Regions from separate parts of the Homo sapiens genome. Here region 1 is linked to region 2. Evidence: promoter capture Hi-C in human tissues and cell types (Jung and others, 2019). All regions are on one chromosome and are shown on one strand. The core of a region is centred on a gene start or on the middle of the fragment in contact, and the rest is flanking DNA. Distances in the headings are between cores, read along the strand shown. Region 1 overlaps DRAXIN (dorsal inhibitory axon guidance protein). Region 2 holds the start of DFFA (DNA fragmentation factor subunit alpha).

Region 1 (3,820 bases), core at 859-3,358, 1.3 Mb before region 2:
TCTGAGACTCGCAGTCAAGAGGTCTGGCTGAGGGATTATGATGAGGACCAGGCGAGGGCAGGGGTCCTGTCTGCCTTGTTTGCTGCTTAGCTCAGGGCAAATGCTCAGTCCAGTGTGTTGAGAAGTCATAGGTGGAATACCAGGCTAAGGATCCCCTCCAAATGCCCCTGTAGAGCTCACTACCAGCACAGACAGACCGTCTCCTGGAGGAACAAAGAGAGACACCAGGTGGGCTTTTTAACCATCGTCTCTTTATTTACAGCTCAAGAGCACATGCAACATGACATCATGAAACTACAAGGGCGTGGCACTTCCCCCTCCCCCTGCCGCTCCCCAACTTTAAAAAGGAAGTACAGCACCCTAGGAAGTTGCCTAAGAGTCAGAAAACCCTACACTGAGGGTCCCAGGCCGAGGTGCTCCATTCATTGCCTCCAAAAATAAAGACCAGTTGCAGCCCAGGAGGCTTGGGCCTCAGAGCCTGGGAGTTTGTCATTGCTGGTAATTAGCTACGCAAAACAGGTCTCGGATTTGCCAGCTCACACCTGAATACAAATAGCCCGAATTATCCGAATGTCCCTGACCACCCCACATTTCTGTTTTCCCCGTCGTATCCTAGACCTGTGATTCTCAAATTTGATCGTGCCCAAGAATGACCTGGAGAACTTGTGAAAAGCCAAATGGCTGGGCCCCACCCCCAGAGATTCTGGCTCAGTAGGCGTGGGGTGGTGGGGCCCAAGAATCTACATTTCTTTTTGTTTTTTTTGTCTTTTTTTGAGACAAGGTCTCGCTGTATTGCCTAAGCTGGAGTGCAGTGGTGCGATCATGGCTCACTGCAGCCTCAACCTCTTGGGCTCAAGCGATCCTCCCACCTCAGCCTGGAGAATAGCTGGGACTACAGGTGTGCACCACCATGCCCGGCTAATTTTGTTATTTTTTGCAGAGATGAGGTCTCCCTATGTTGCCTAGGCTAAGATTCTGCATTTCTACCAAGCTCCCAGGTGCTGTTACTGGCCCGGGACCGTAATCTTGAGTGTCTAAGGTCTAGAAAGCCTCTTGCACCCAGAAGTGACCCAGCCATGGATCCTGTATCAGACTGCTTGTTCTGACTTAGAATTCAGAAAATACACTCCCTGCAATATAAACCCCTGGTTCTGCAAACTGCCCTTCCCAGGAAAGGCAACCGTCCCTGCTAACCTCCTCCCCAGGAAACACACACAGTCACCATTGCCTGTCAGAGTGAAGACTATCACAGAGGTGACAGGGCTCAGTCCAACCCCGTGAAACCCCCAGTGAGGAGCCACAGTGGTTTGCTTCTCTGGCCTCTCCACTGTCTCTCCTAGCACCATTTTCCTGGCTGTTCTGTTGTTTTATAAACCGGTTCCTTGCAGGTTTCAGGTATGCTGTCTCTCCAGCTGCAGAGTGAGCCCCACGGCAGGGGCCGTGTGCCCACCACCTCAATGTTAGGTTTTGTTGGGTGGGTTGAATATGGCTTGAAATAAGGACCCACCTCCAGCAGCTCAGTGGTAGAAGGGGTTGTGGCTTTAGGATTTACTTTGTGGCTTGGTCACTCCTCAAGGGGCTGTGAAGCTGTCATTTTCCCACAAGCCTTGGCCCTCATGTCATTGCATGCTCAGCCTATTCCCAGCAGGCATGGAAACCACTCTTGGTGTCTCCAGACAAACTACGGAAAGGCAGCCCTGTGGGAACAGCAGGTATTCCTGGGATCCGCGGTGAGACTCCAGCTGGAGGAGTGCAGGAGGGTTCAGGCCACGGGCCCAGCAGCTACTGGTTGCCACCTGGCCTCCTGCTCAGCTCCCCCACTCCACCCAGGGTATCATTTTAGACTCCAGCACCCATTTTATTGCAAAGCCACTTACTCCTCCAGCCCTGCCTCGGTGCCTGGAATCTGCACATGCTGCCAAGGGCTGAGGCCAGAACAGTTTTCCAAACCTCTCTGACCATGGAACCGTACCCTGACCCTTTCTAATAGAGCATCTCATGGTCCCAGTGTTCTATGGAACACACTTTGGGGAAGGAGCTTGAATGGTGACTTAGAAATGATCTCAGAGTATGTGATGGGTCATTGTCAAAGAACCGACATCTAAAATTCTCCTAGAATAACAAATTAGCTAACACTGGAGGTTTATTAGGTGCTAGGCACTGTTCTAAACACCTTATAAGAATTCTGCGTTCACAGGCCAGGCATGCTGGCTCATGCCTGTAATCCCAGCACTTTGGGAGGCTGAGACGGGGGGATCACCTGAGGTCAGGAGTTTGAGACCAGCCTGGCCAACATGGTGAAACCCCATCTCTACTAAAAATACAAACAGTAACCGGGCGTGGTGATGCTTGCCTATAATCCCAGGTACGCGAGAGGCTGAGGCGGGAGAATCACTTGTACCCAGGAGGCAGAGGTCGCAGTGAGCCGAGATCGTGCCACTGCACTCCAGCCTGGGCAACAAGAGTGAAACTCTGTCTCAAAAGAAAAAAAAAAAAAAAGAAGTATGCATTCACTACTCACAACAACCCTATGAAGGGAGAGTTATTATTCCCATTTTACAGATGAAAAAATCAAGGCACAGAGACCTTAAGAAACTTTCCTAAGGTTGCCAAAGCTGTGAGAGGTGGAATAGGTGGATTTAACACCAGCCACACTGCTACAGATGGAAGGGGAGAGCAGAGACTCTCCGCCCCAGCTGCACCTGAAGTTACCTGGGAGAAAAACTATGAAGCCCAGACCAAACAAAACAGAAGCTTTGTGGGTGGGCCCCAGGCCTGTGAATGTTCCTGGATTATTGCAACGTGCAGCCAGCGTTGAGAGTGAGCAGGCTTGAGCAGGGGTTGGCAAACCGTGACCCTCAGGCCAAATCTGCCCCACTGCCTGGTTTTGCGCAGTTGGCAAGCAAAGAGCAGTTTTTGCACTTTTAAATGGTTTTAGAAAATTAAACTAATAATATTTTATGGCCAGGTGCGGTGGCTCACACCTGTAATCCCAGCATTTTGGGAGGCTGAGGCGGGCGGATCACCTGAGGTCAGAAGTTTGAGACCAGCCTGGCCAACATGGTAAAACCTTATCTCTACTAAAAATACAAAAATTAACCAGGTGTGGTGGCACATGCCTGTAGTCACAGCTACTTGGGAGGCTGAGGCAGGAGAATTGCTTGAACCTGGGATGAAGAGGTTGCAGTGAGCTGAGACTGAGCCACTGCATTCCAGCCTGGGCAGCAGAGCAAAACTCCATCTCCAAAAAAAAAAAAAAGGAAAGAGAGAATAATATTTTGTGACATGTGAAAAGTATACAGAATTCACATGTGTGTCCAGAAATAGTTTTCCTGGAGCATAGCCATGAATTCATTTACACACTCTCTGTGGCTGCTTCGAGCTACGGCAGAGCTGAGTAGCTGGTGGAGATCAGATGGCTTGCAAATCCTAAAATGTTTATTTGGCTCCTCACAGTAAAAGTTTGCTAAACCCTGGATTAGAGGAAACTGGCTTCTGTATGAGCAAAATAAATTTAAGATAGACCTAAGGAAGAACTTCCTGGCAGAGAGGTTGGTTAGACACTTGAGAGGGCTTTGGGATTCCCAGCTCTGGAGTTAAGAGGTTCCATCCACCCATCCCTCTTTGGAAATGTCAAATAGAGATAGCTAGGGCAAAGAGACGGGCCTTGAATTTCCAACCATGGAACTACCCTGGCAACCAGTGGCAGTTCTATGGGCATTTTAGCTTTGTCCTGACCCTCTGTGTTCTCCATGGCTGATGTCCTAGGACCATCTAACAGCTGTCCCCCAGCCATAGTAATGCTGGGCTTTCTTCCGGC
Region 2 (3,894 bases), core at 1,365-3,864:
GGCGGGGCTCAGGAGGGGGCAAGAGGTCGGGGTCCCCAGCTTCGGAGACTCGGGGTCCCTACCCGGCTCCCAGCCGTATGCTGAGCGCCCCCTCCAGCCGGGGTCTCCGCCGCACAGCGGGGCAGTCCCACTCCCCTTACCTGGCTCGGCTGCTCTGCCTGCTCCGAGGACGCCATCTTTCTGAGGCCTGACTAATCAACCGCCGCTGGGCGAGGTTTCTCCCAGGCGCCCTCGCTCTCGCCCTCCCGCCCAGACTAAGGTAGCCGGAACAGAGCCTGTCGATGTAGGGGACTGGGGCAGAGGGGTGGAGCCCGGGTGTCCGGGTCACCTTGCATAGTTTCCGTTAAGACTCTGCTTTCCAGGAAGATCCCAAGTCTATATCTTCTTTGCGTTGTTATATGTGTATTATTCTGGTTTTGCTTTTTTTTTTTGAGACGGAGTTTCGCACTTGTTGCCTAGGCTGGAGTGCAATGGCGCGATATCGGCTCACCGCAACCTCAGCCTCCCGGTTTCAAGTGATTCTCCTGCCTCAGCCTCCCGAGTAGCTGGGATTGCAGGCATGCGCCACCATGCCCGGCTAACATTGTATTTTTAGTAGAGATGGAGTTTCTCCATGTTGGTCAGGCTGCTCTCGAACTCCCGACCTCAGGTGATCTGCCCGCCTCGGCCTCCCAAAGTGTTGGGATTACAGAAGTGAGCCACAGCGCCCGGCCCATATTATTCTTATTGAGTTAATCTCTGCCCATCCCCACAGTGCCATGGGCACATTTAGGGACTTGCCAATGGATGAATGCGAAGAAACTTGGAAATTAATTTTTAGACATCAGTTCAGTTCCATTCATTGAGTGCCTACTATATGCTAGGGACTTTGGTAGGCCTTGAAATAAAAACATTCAAGACTCAATCCCTACTCCCACGCCCAGGCCAAACACACTTACAATTACAGTATTATGGGGATAGGACTCGGATAAGTGTGCAGGTCTATTGGGAGAACATAAAAGGGGGCATTTTGAAGAGAAGAGGCTTCTACAAAACGTCATTATTTTACACTGGTTGAATTGTTAGATTTTTTTAATTGTTAGATTTTAAATTAAATATTGGACGGGAGCAGTGGCTCACACCTGTAATCCCAACACTTTAGGAGGCCAAGGCAGGAGGATCCCTTGAGCCCAGGAGGTTGAGGCTGCAGTGAACTATGATTATGCCACTGCACTCCAGCCTGGGCGACAGAGCGAGACCTTGTCTAAAAATAAGATAAGAAAATAAAAAATGAAATTATATGAAAAAGGATACATACATTAGAGTTAACCGCCAGCTCCTATTATAGTTGTGTTTTGATCAATATAGACTGCTTAAAAGGGATGACTTAATGAATAATTCCTCCTACTAAACGCTGTTTTAAATGTCTAAACTTTTCTTGAGATAATATCCAATTTCCTCTCCCACGTTTTTTTTGTTTGTTTTTGCTTTTGTTTTTGTTTTTGCTTGAGACGAAGTCTTGCTCCTGACGCCCAGGCTGGAGTGCAATGGTGCGATCTGGGCCGACTGCAACCTCCGCCTCCCGGGTTCAAGCGATTCACCTGCCTCAGCCTCCCAAGAGCTGGGACTACAGGCGTGCGCCATCACGCCCGGCTAATTTTTGTATTTTTAGTAGAGATAGGGTTTCACCATGCTGGCCAGGCTGGTCTCAAACTACTGACCTCAGATCATCTGTCCGCCTCGGCCTCCTAAAGTGCTGAGATTACAGGGGTGAGCCACCGCCCCCGGGGCCCTTGCCCACGTTTTTATAAACAAAATATGAGGTGGGAGGATTGCTTGAGCCCAGGAGATCAAAACTGCAGTGAGCCATCATCGCGCCACTGCACTCCAGCCTGGGAGACAGAGCGAAACGCTGTCTCAAAAAAAGAAAAAAGAAACAAGGAAGGAAAGTGTCCCCCGAATGAATAAATATGAGCAGATAATTACTTCTAGTTTACATAAAATGCCCTCTTTTAAGAGAGGAACTTTTTGATCATTTTTATTACTATTCTTTTAATCTTAGATGTTTATTTTTCAGGAGGAAAAAAACAAACTTTTCCATAGTAGCAGTATTAAAACAAAGATGAATATGTTGTCAAGAGGCATCTGAACAATCTCCAACAGTGCCGAGTCGCATTTCCCCTTTCCTCTCCGATGCATTTGAGACTTTAATGCTTACTATATTTATTTAAGCGTTTTGTTCTGAGACCCCAAACTAATTTGCACAGTTGAAGCAGGAAATAGAATGGGTGGAAACATGCGGGTGTCTGTATTAGCATTATGCATCTCATATGCGAATAGGAATGCTCTAAAAATTCAATACAGTATACATGCGTGTGCATCGTCATGCAAAATAAGTCTCTATTGGCCTTATATTTGAACGCGCGAATGCAGCTCCTAAAAGTTAAAAACAACTCCTAGGCTGAATCGCGCGATAGAACGAAAGCGGCTTTAAACCCAGAGACTACAGTTTCCGGCATGCTTCGACGCCACACGTGATTAGCGGCAACTAGAACTACATTTCCCGGCGTGCCCTGGTCTCACGTGTGATTTGCTGCGGAACGAACTACATCTCCCGGCAGGCTGCGGAAGGGGGTCGAGTAGAAGGACCGCCGCTCCGGCCTCCCGCGACTTCTCGAAGGTGGGCAGGTCCCACCTTGTGGAGGATGGAGGTGACCGGGGACGCCGGGGTACCAGAATCTGGCGAGATCCGGACTCTAAAGCCGTGTCTGCTGCGCCGCAACTACAGCCGCGAACAGCACGGCGTGGCCGCCTCCTGCCTCGAAGACCTGAGGAGCAAGGGTTGGCTCGGGACCCCGGGCGAGGGTGTGGGGGAGCCAGGGCCGGGTGAGGACGTCCGGCGGGGGCGAGGCGGGGTCAGGAGAGGCGACTTGGGGATTCTTGTATCTCGGGTGGAGGCTTGGGACAGAAACGGTCCGAGTGGGCATAGCGATTTACAGATTTAAGGCGCTTGAGCGTAATTAATCTCGTGTGAGACTCCACGGTGGTGGGAAGACAGCCAGGAAGCAATGTGCAAATTAAGCCAGACTCGGCTTAGGTCTCTTGCCTGAAATCACTTCGATGTTGGACCAAACGGACCCCACTGGGTTCCTGCCACTCCGCCACACTCAGATGGTACAAGAACCCCCAGCTGAGCCCACGGCGGTGTGGGGAGGGGTTTCCACCGTCCGCTCTGGCAGGAACCTATGCAGGAAAGAGGGAGCTGCTACTGACCATTTCTGGAGGTCCAGACAAGGAACGTGAGTTGTAAGTGACGGAGCCGACGGAAGTTCCGAGCCCGGCCCCATACCTTTACCAGCTGCTTGGCCTTGCACTTAACCAGCTCTCAACCCTCAGTTTTCTCATCAGCAAATTGGGTATAATATTTATAGCCCTGCTTCAAAGGGTTGTTGGTTCTCTCAAATAAGATGATATATTTAAGTGACTTACAAGTCTTATTAGCCAGTAGCAACAAATCGCTTACCCAAAGAAGTTTTACAGGTTACATGTGTGAGCCAGCCCCAGGCATGTAGTCACAGTGTGTGTCAGAGGGCACAGTTGCTTCCTCTCAGTCACCAACAGAAATCATATGGAAATTTTCAGAGACCCATGAACAGCCAAAGCATTATAAATGCTTTGGTAACATGGATTTTGCATATAAGCATTTATGTATTTTTTTTCCTGACATTAGATTACTTTACTTCTAATTCCCCTTCAGTGCCGTGGCTGGATGTGCGTGGCACAGAGGCTGGTGTTCTCTGCAGTCCAGCGCATACATGCCTTGCTGTTCTATTGGGTGGTAGACAACACCGCTGAAGGATATTTGTAGTCTCTTGGCTATTTCTGATCACTCCAGTCCCGTTAGTATTTGAAGCA

The links. Contacts are between HindIII fragments. The study calls those that stand out against the background at their distance.
Region 1: a contact is called between a fragment that was not itself captured here and the fragment with the promoter of DFFA in region 2, in 1 of the 25 tissues and cell types used here (aorta).

Annotation. Positions count from the first base shown.
Region 1 is chr1:11,722,269-11,726,088 of GRCh38, reverse strand. DRAXIN (dorsal inhibitory axon guidance protein) reads right to left here. Exons shown (of 7, transcript NM_198545.4): 7 at 232-3,820. Among named protein-coding and RNA genes, the nearest start is that of AGTRAP, 12 kb to the left of the region's middle. The HindIII fragment of the contact is 8,805 bases long and covers 1-3,820 here.
Region 2 is chr1:10,471,249-10,475,142 of GRCh38, reverse strand. DFFA (DNA fragmentation factor subunit alpha) reads left to right here and starts at 2,614. Exons shown (of 6, transcript NM_004401.3): 1 at 2,614-2,820. The coding sequence starts at 2,685. It overlaps PEX14 (peroxisomal biogenesis factor 14), which reads right to left and starts at 193. Exons shown (of 9, transcript NM_004565.3): 1 at 141-193. The coding sequence starts at 176. RefSeq lists a silencer at 1-106 and enhancers at 107-296, 119-1,084, 3,046-3,145. The HindIII fragment of the contact is 16,915 bases long and covers 1-3,894 here.